2 separate regions of the Homo sapiens genome follow, and region 2 is linked to region 1. The links are contacts of gene promoters, found by promoter capture Hi-C in human tissues and cell types (Jung and others, 2019). All regions are on one chromosome and are shown on one strand. Each heading gives the region's core, a stretch centred on a gene start or on the middle of the fragment in contact. The rest is flanking DNA. Distances are from core to core; before and after follow the strand shown. Region 1 holds the start of THY1 (Thy-1 cell surface antigen). Region 2 has its middle 16 kb from the start of TRIM29.

Region 1 (3,508 bases), core at 715-3,214:
TAGGCCAGGTCCTCATAACCTTATCAAAATAGCACTGCTAGGCCTTCCACCCAGCAACACTCAGAGACAGGGCCAAAGAGTGGGAAACGGAGCATCCAGGGCCTCAGCCAGCAGAGCCCAGATGCCTTCTGCAGTTAAGATCCCTGGACTCAGAATCAGAAAGCTGTTAAGCAGGAAGGAGTGCGCTGCCATGAAGAGGCAGACAGAAGCCAGAGCCAGTGTGTCTGGAATGCATCAGGTAGATGAATGGGAAGATGGCTGGGATGGAGTTGGAGGGAGGAGGGAAGTCAGCAGCCAGGGGCCAGGACATTCATGGCCTTAAAAAGTATCCTACAAACAAGAAGCCAGGTTAGCTCACCTATGAAGAGGGACAGTCTTACCAGATCATGTGTTAGAGTCCCCAGATCCTGGGGAGCGTGAGAAAAGTGCAGACTCAGCTGGCTCTAGTACTAGATTAAGGAGGTCCTAGGTGGGCAAGGCCAGCTGCATTTTTCATAAAATGCCCTAGAAACCTCTGCAGTTTACCAAAGTGAATAGCTCCTTTGGACTTAACCATCTGCAAGGCTCATTCCAGTTAGAGTGTTCCATCACCCTAAATGCTGGGAAACCAAGCGAATCTCCTCCCACTTGCAAGCTTCCAACAGTGGCTTCCAACAGTGCCACTGCAGTATCAGAAACTGCAGGGAAGGTGCCAGGGCTGACTTCCATGAAGAAATAGGAGAACAGGCAGGCAGACATTGGGGAGGCCCACAGAATGTCGTGATCAGAATTCATAAAGAGGCTGGCAGGATACAAATCAATCAAATAAACGTTAGTTCAAAAAAATTCACTACACCTGTGAGTGAGAGAAAGTCATCAGCACTGTCTCTAAAAATGAGCCTAGGGCTTCTGGTGACATCCAATCGGTGGGTTATCAGGAGTGCCCCAGGTGATCAGGAGTTGGCCTCGACTCAGTCCTTTTTGTGCTGTCTCCTCCTCTTTCCCAGAGTTCCTCTCTCTCTTCTCCCACTAGGCAGGGATGAGCAAGAGGAATGGCTCACCCTTGAGAGCTGGGGTCCATAGCCCAGGTCAGTTCTCCAGCTCTCCCACTTACCAGCCAAGACAGGAGGTGAGGATTGAGATGGGATGAACCCAGCAGGCGGCCATGGGTTAAAGGTCGCCATGAATGTAATGTGCCCAGCACAGTGCCTGCTAAAAGGCAACACTCCCTTCCTGGTCTGAAGACCAAACAAGCAGACTGTACTCAGGAAAGCCAGAAGAACCTTCCAGCTGTCTGGACCAGAAGGTGCCAGCCCAGGGGCTGAAGAAGACGTAATGCCCAGAGCAAAAAGCGCCTGCAGCCCCCTGAAGGGCTGGGTGCTCTGGAATAGATGAGGGGGCGAAATGGGGCTGGGGACCAGGGACGGACAGGGTGGGTCCAGCACCTGCCTCGCTTCCGAAGGGCTGCTCCAACACTGAAAAACACCCAACCAGCTTCCTTTCAGAAAGACTGGAATATTCCAAAACTTCTCACTGGAGGCTCCGGAGGAGGTGGGCTCCAGCTGAAAAGGAAATGTGGAGGCGTGGGCGCTCCCGGCCTGCATCCTGCACCTCTTACACTTTGGTTTTCCCACAGACTCCTGAAGAATAGGTCAGAAGAAAGGGTTAAAGCCTTAAAAGGGGAACAACCATTGCGGGGCTCAGGGAGGAGGATAATGTTCTTTGGGCTGCCGCACCCTGATCCCCGGGGTCCCGAACCCTCCCGTCCCTGGCCAGGCCTGCCAGCCACAGGGTGAGGGCCCCCTTCCGCCGCAACCTGCCACTCTCACACCAATGCGGGACCGCCTTCTCTTCCTTCCCCACCCCCCACCCCACCCTGCCGTCCTTTCTCCCCCAATCTCCGCCTCTGATTGGCTGAGCCCCCGGCTCCCCGCTCCCCCTCTCCTCCATCCCCGGTGAAAACTGCGGGCTCCGAGCTGGGTGCAGCAACCGGAGGCGGCGGCGCGTCTGGAGGAGGCTGCAGCAGCGGAAGACCCCAGTCCAGGTGGGAACTGGAGCCGGTGGGACCTGGGGCTCGGGGACCGCCGTCAGGCGCCCATGCAAGACTTCCCAACACTAGGCTTCGGGCCACGGTCCGAGGGCGCCCAGGGAAGAAGGGCGCAGAGCTTAGGGAGGGGCCTGCTTTCCAGGCAGGGGCGGGAGGGGGATGCTTCTGCAGGGCAGGGGCCGCGTGGCACCCTGATGTCTTTCGGGGAAGGCGCTCCCGGGCTTTCGCCCGCTGGGGGACTGGTGTCTGGGGCTGGGGCGCTGGAGAACAGGGAGGAAGGGCACCAAGGACAGCCTGTGGGTCTACATTCCACCCAGACGTCCCCAAACCCAGCTCGCAGAGGCGGGGAGGAGGACGGATGAAACTGCGGGGAGAGGATGGAGGATGGCGAGCTAGAGGGAATCTGCCGGGTGACCTCGCGGCGGGCTGGGTGCGGGGCACCGGAGGAGAAGGAAGCCGCAGTGCCGCAGGCGGGGACTGGGTGGAAGGCGGGCGGACGGGGGAGGGGAGAGCTGGAAAAGGATGAGAGAGGGGGAAGGGGGACTCATTTGGGAAAGGAGAGGATTGGAATACGGAAATGGATTAAGGATGAGGCCCGCCGGGGGCTTGAGAGGGAGGAAGAGCAGACCTTCTCTGGGTCTGGAGCCGCCTGAGGACACAGACCAGAGGAAATGAATACAGACTGCACCTCCCCAGCCGCTCTCCACCCCTCCCCTGGCTCTTCTACCCTCTCCAGCCCCAGACCCATTTCTTCCCTTTCTTGCTCTGGCCATTGCTCCCCCTTCCCCTCCTAGATCCCAAGCCCGCACAACATCTCAAACAAGAGTCCTCGATTCAAAAGCCAGATGCCGACCCCCCTTCCTCCTGGATCTGGCTCAGGGCAGCAGCTCCACCCCGGGACAGAGAGAGCATTGATTGTAGCTGCAGCCGCCGCGGGATCCTAGCCTCACCCGTCAAGGGGCTGAGCGCCAGGGACCCTGAACTCGTCTAGTGGTGCGCCCTGCGCACCCGGGCGCACTCAACCGAGGCAATGCCCTGCGCGCTCTCGCGGGTGCACGCCCCTTCTGTGGCCTCTCCTGGGCGAGCACTGCTCTGCAGATAGGCTAGACTACCGGCTCCGCGTCGCCTCGCCAAGGGTTGGTTCAGCCAAGGCTGCAAAAAACAAAAAAAGACCAGGCAGACAGCCTATCCAGGGTGGCTATTGAAACTGGGCTGGAAAACTGCAGTCCCAGGAACTCCAGAGAGCTGGACATTGGGAAGCATCCTTGGCTCACATACAATCGGAGATCACTATGTCTTTCTCTCCTCCAGGAACACGATTAGCTTGTGTCCTATCCAGATAGGAATAGATGCTCCCTATCTGGGAGCATCCTTAGCTATGGTGAATGGTATCTAGCCATCCACTGGGGATGGCGAGTGACTTAGGGATTTGTGTCTCACGTATATGAAGCAGTCATCGCCAGATGTTGGTTGTTTTTCTTA
Region 2 (3,508 bases), core at 347-2,846, 730 kb before region 1:
CTTACAAAATTTCTGAGAATTTGAAAGTACATTGTCATGGGCCAGTACAAGCCATTTCTGGGATGCTAAACATTTTTAAAAAAATACCAATTCTACAAAAACTGTTGCAGAAAAGAGACGGGGAGGAAACATTTCTAAACAGAATTTTAGCAGAAAAAAAATCAGCAATATATACAAAGAATAACAAAGTGTGATCAAATGGGATTTATCCTAGGAATTCAAGGTTGGCTTAACATTCAAAAGTCAGTTTTTTTAAGTTTTAAAATCTTTATTTATTTATTTTATTTAAATAGCTTTGGGGGTACAAGTGGTTTTTACCTACATGGATGAATTCTATAGTGGTGAATTCTGAGATTTTAGTGCACCCATCACCTGAGCAGTGTAACTGTACCCAGTATGAAGTCTTTTATCCCTCACCTCGCTCCCAACCTCCCCACCCACAAATCCCCAAAGTTCATTATATCACTCTGTATGTCTTTGCATCCTCATTGCTTAGCTCCCACTTACAAGTAAGGATATACAGTATTTGGTTTTCCATTCCTGAGTCATTTCTCTTAGAATAATGGCTTCCAGTTCCATCCAAATTGCTGCAAAAGACATTATTTCTTTCCTTTTTATGGCTGAGTAGCATTCCACAGTGTATGCACATCACATTTTCTTTATCCACTCATTGGTCTATGGGCACTTAGATTGATTCCATATCTTTGCAATTGTAAATTGTGCTGCTATCAGCGTGAGTATGCCTGCATGTATGTGTGTGTCTTTTTTGTATAATGACTTCTTTTTCTCTGGGTAGTTACCCAGTAGTAGGGTTGCTGGATTGAATGGTAGATCTACTTTTAGTTTCACAAGTCAATTTATATACAACTTGAATGAACCTTGGAGACACTCTGTTGAGTAAAATAAGCAGTCGTAATAGGACAAATAGTGTATGATTCCACTTATATGAGATATTTAAAGTAGTCAAAGTCATGAAAACAGAAAGTAGAATGGTGGTTTCGTCGAGTTGGGAAGGGGGAATGGGGAGTTGTTGTTTGATGGGTATAGAGTTTTAGTTTTGCAAGATGAAAAACTTCTAGAGATCTGTTATACAACAATGTGAATGTAGTTAACACTACTGAACTGTATACTCAAAAATGATAAATGGTAAGTGTTATGTGTTTTTAACCACAATTTTTAAAAAGTCAATCTATAATTTATCATATGTGGTAGTCATAATATCTATGTCCTAATCCACAGAACTTGTGAATATACTACTTTATGTAGCAAAAGATATTTTGCAGATATGATTGTTAAGGATTTTGAGATGGGAGATTATTCTGGATTATCAGGATGGGCCCAATGTAATCACAAAGATCCTTGTACCTAAAAGAGGGAGGCAGGAGAGTCAGACAAAAAGATGTGTCATGACAGAAGCAGAGATTGGAGTGATATAAATGCTGGCTTTGAAGATGGAAAAAGTCATGAGCCAGGGAACATGTGCAGCCTCTACAAGCTGGAAAAGGCAAAGAAACGGGTTATCTTCTAGAGCCTTCAGAAAAGATGCAGCCCTGCCAACATCTTGATTTTAGCCCATTTTGGGCTTCTGACCTCCAAAACTATAAGATAATAAATTTGTGTTGTTTTAAGCCACTAAGCTTGTTACGGCAGCAATAGAAAATGAATGTATCATATAAACAGATCTAAAAAGGAAAAAAACATGATCATGTCAGTAGATTCAGGGAAAGCTTTTGACAAAATTCAACAAGACAAATTTATCAAGATTCATGATAAAATCTTAGCAAATTAGGGATACAAGGGAACTTACACAATCTGGAAAAGGGCATCTATTTAAAAATACCCTACAATTGACATTATACTTAGTAGTGAAAAATGGGATGTTTTTCCTCTCAGATTAGGAACAAAGCAAGTAAGTCTGTTATAACTATTTCTATTCGACAGTGTACTGGAGGTCCTAGCCAGTGCAAGAATTCAAGAAAAAGAAAAAAGGCACAGATGAGAAGATTCAAAATTGTTTTTATTTATAAACAATATAATTTTCTCTCTAGAAAATCTTAGGAAATCCACAAGCAAGCTAAGACACTACAGTTAATAAATGAGTTTAGCAATGTTGCAGGATATGGGTTCAATACACAAAAATTAATTATTATTATTATTATTTTTGAGAGGGAGCCTCAGTCTGTCACCCAGGCTGGAGTGCAGTGGCACAATCATGACTCACTGAAGCCTTAAGCTCCTGGGCTTAAGCAATCCTCCCACCTTAGCCTGCCACGTAGCTGTGACTACAGGCCTGTGCCACCACACCTGACTGACTTTTTTATTTTTAAATTTTTTGTAGAGACAGGGTCTTGCTACGTTACCCAGGCTGTTCTCAAATTCCTGGCCTCTAGCTGGAGTTGCCACCTTGGCCTCCTAATATGCTAGTATTACAAGTGTGAGCCACTGTGCCTGGCCTAATTGTATTTCTATATACTAGAAACTAACAATTGGAATTTAAATGGAAAATAACATTTATGATGGCATGAAAACATGAACTAGTTAAGAGTAAATTAGCAAAAATTTGTATAGTACACTAAAAACTACAAAACTGCTGGGAGAAGTTAAAGAAGATCTAAATAAATAGAGAAACATACCATGTTCATGGTATGTATTGATATTATTAAGACTTGCTATTGTTAAGCTGTCAATTCTCCCCAAATTGATCTTCAGATTTAATGTACTCTCAGTCAAAATCAGAGCAGATTTTTGAAGAATTTTGTAATCTGATCCTAAAGTTCATATGGAAATGCCATGGATCATAATAGGTACAAAAAATTATGAAAAACGAAGACCAAGCTTGGAGGACTTACTACCTGATTTTTAAGACTTACAACAAAGTAGTAGTAATTAGATAGTGTATTATGGAATAAAGTAAACATTTAGATCACTGAACAGAATAGAGAGTCCAGAAATAGATTTATATATATGTAGATAACTGATTTTTCACAAAGGTGCCAAGGTAATTCAACGGGGGAAATGATAGTTTTTTCAACAAATGGTGCTGGAACAATTGGGTATCCATATACAAGAAAAAAAATGGCCCTTATCTCACATCATAAACAACAATTAACTTGAAATAGTGGATCTAAGATTTAAAATCTTTATAACCTAAAATCTTTATAACCTGTTATGCATAACAGCTCTATCTATACCAACCGCACACTGAAGCAAACATAGAAATTTCTTAGATAGGACATAGAAAGCACAAACCTTAAAGAAAAAAAAAATCAGTATATCAGACTTCCTTAAAAAAAACTTGTTCTATTTATTTATTTATTTATATAATTTTTGAGACAGGGTCTTGCTCTGTCACCCAGGCTGGAGTGCAGTGGCATGATCTCGGCTCACTACAACCTCTGCCTCCTGGGTTCAAGTGATTCTCCTGCCTCAGACTCCTGAGTAGCTGGGATTACAGGCCCCCACCACCATGCCCGGCTAATTTTTGTACTTTTTTTTTTTTTTCAGTAGA

The links. Contacts are between HindIII fragments. The study calls those that stand out against the background at their distance.
Region 2: a fragment that was not itself captured here is called in contact with the fragment with the promoter of THY1 in region 1 in 2 of the 25 tissues and cell types used here (dorsolateral prefrontal cortex and hippocampus).

Annotation. Positions count from the first base shown.
Region 1 is chr11:119,421,628-119,425,135 of GRCh38, reverse strand. It overlaps THY1 (Thy-1 cell surface antigen), which reads left to right and starts at 1,964. Exons shown (of 4, transcript NM_006288.5): 1 at 1,964-2,023. All of the region lies in intron 2 of USP2-AS1 (USP2 antisense RNA 1), which reads right to left. RefSeq lists enhancers at 2,086-2,651, 2,652-3,218. The HindIII fragment of the contact is 13,176 bases long and covers 1-3,508 here.
Region 2 is chr11:120,152,172-120,155,679 of GRCh38, reverse strand. No RefSeq gene overlaps it. Among named protein-coding and RNA genes, the nearest start is that of TRIM29, 16 kb to the right of the region's middle. The HindIII fragment of the contact is 4,875 bases long and covers 1-3,508 here.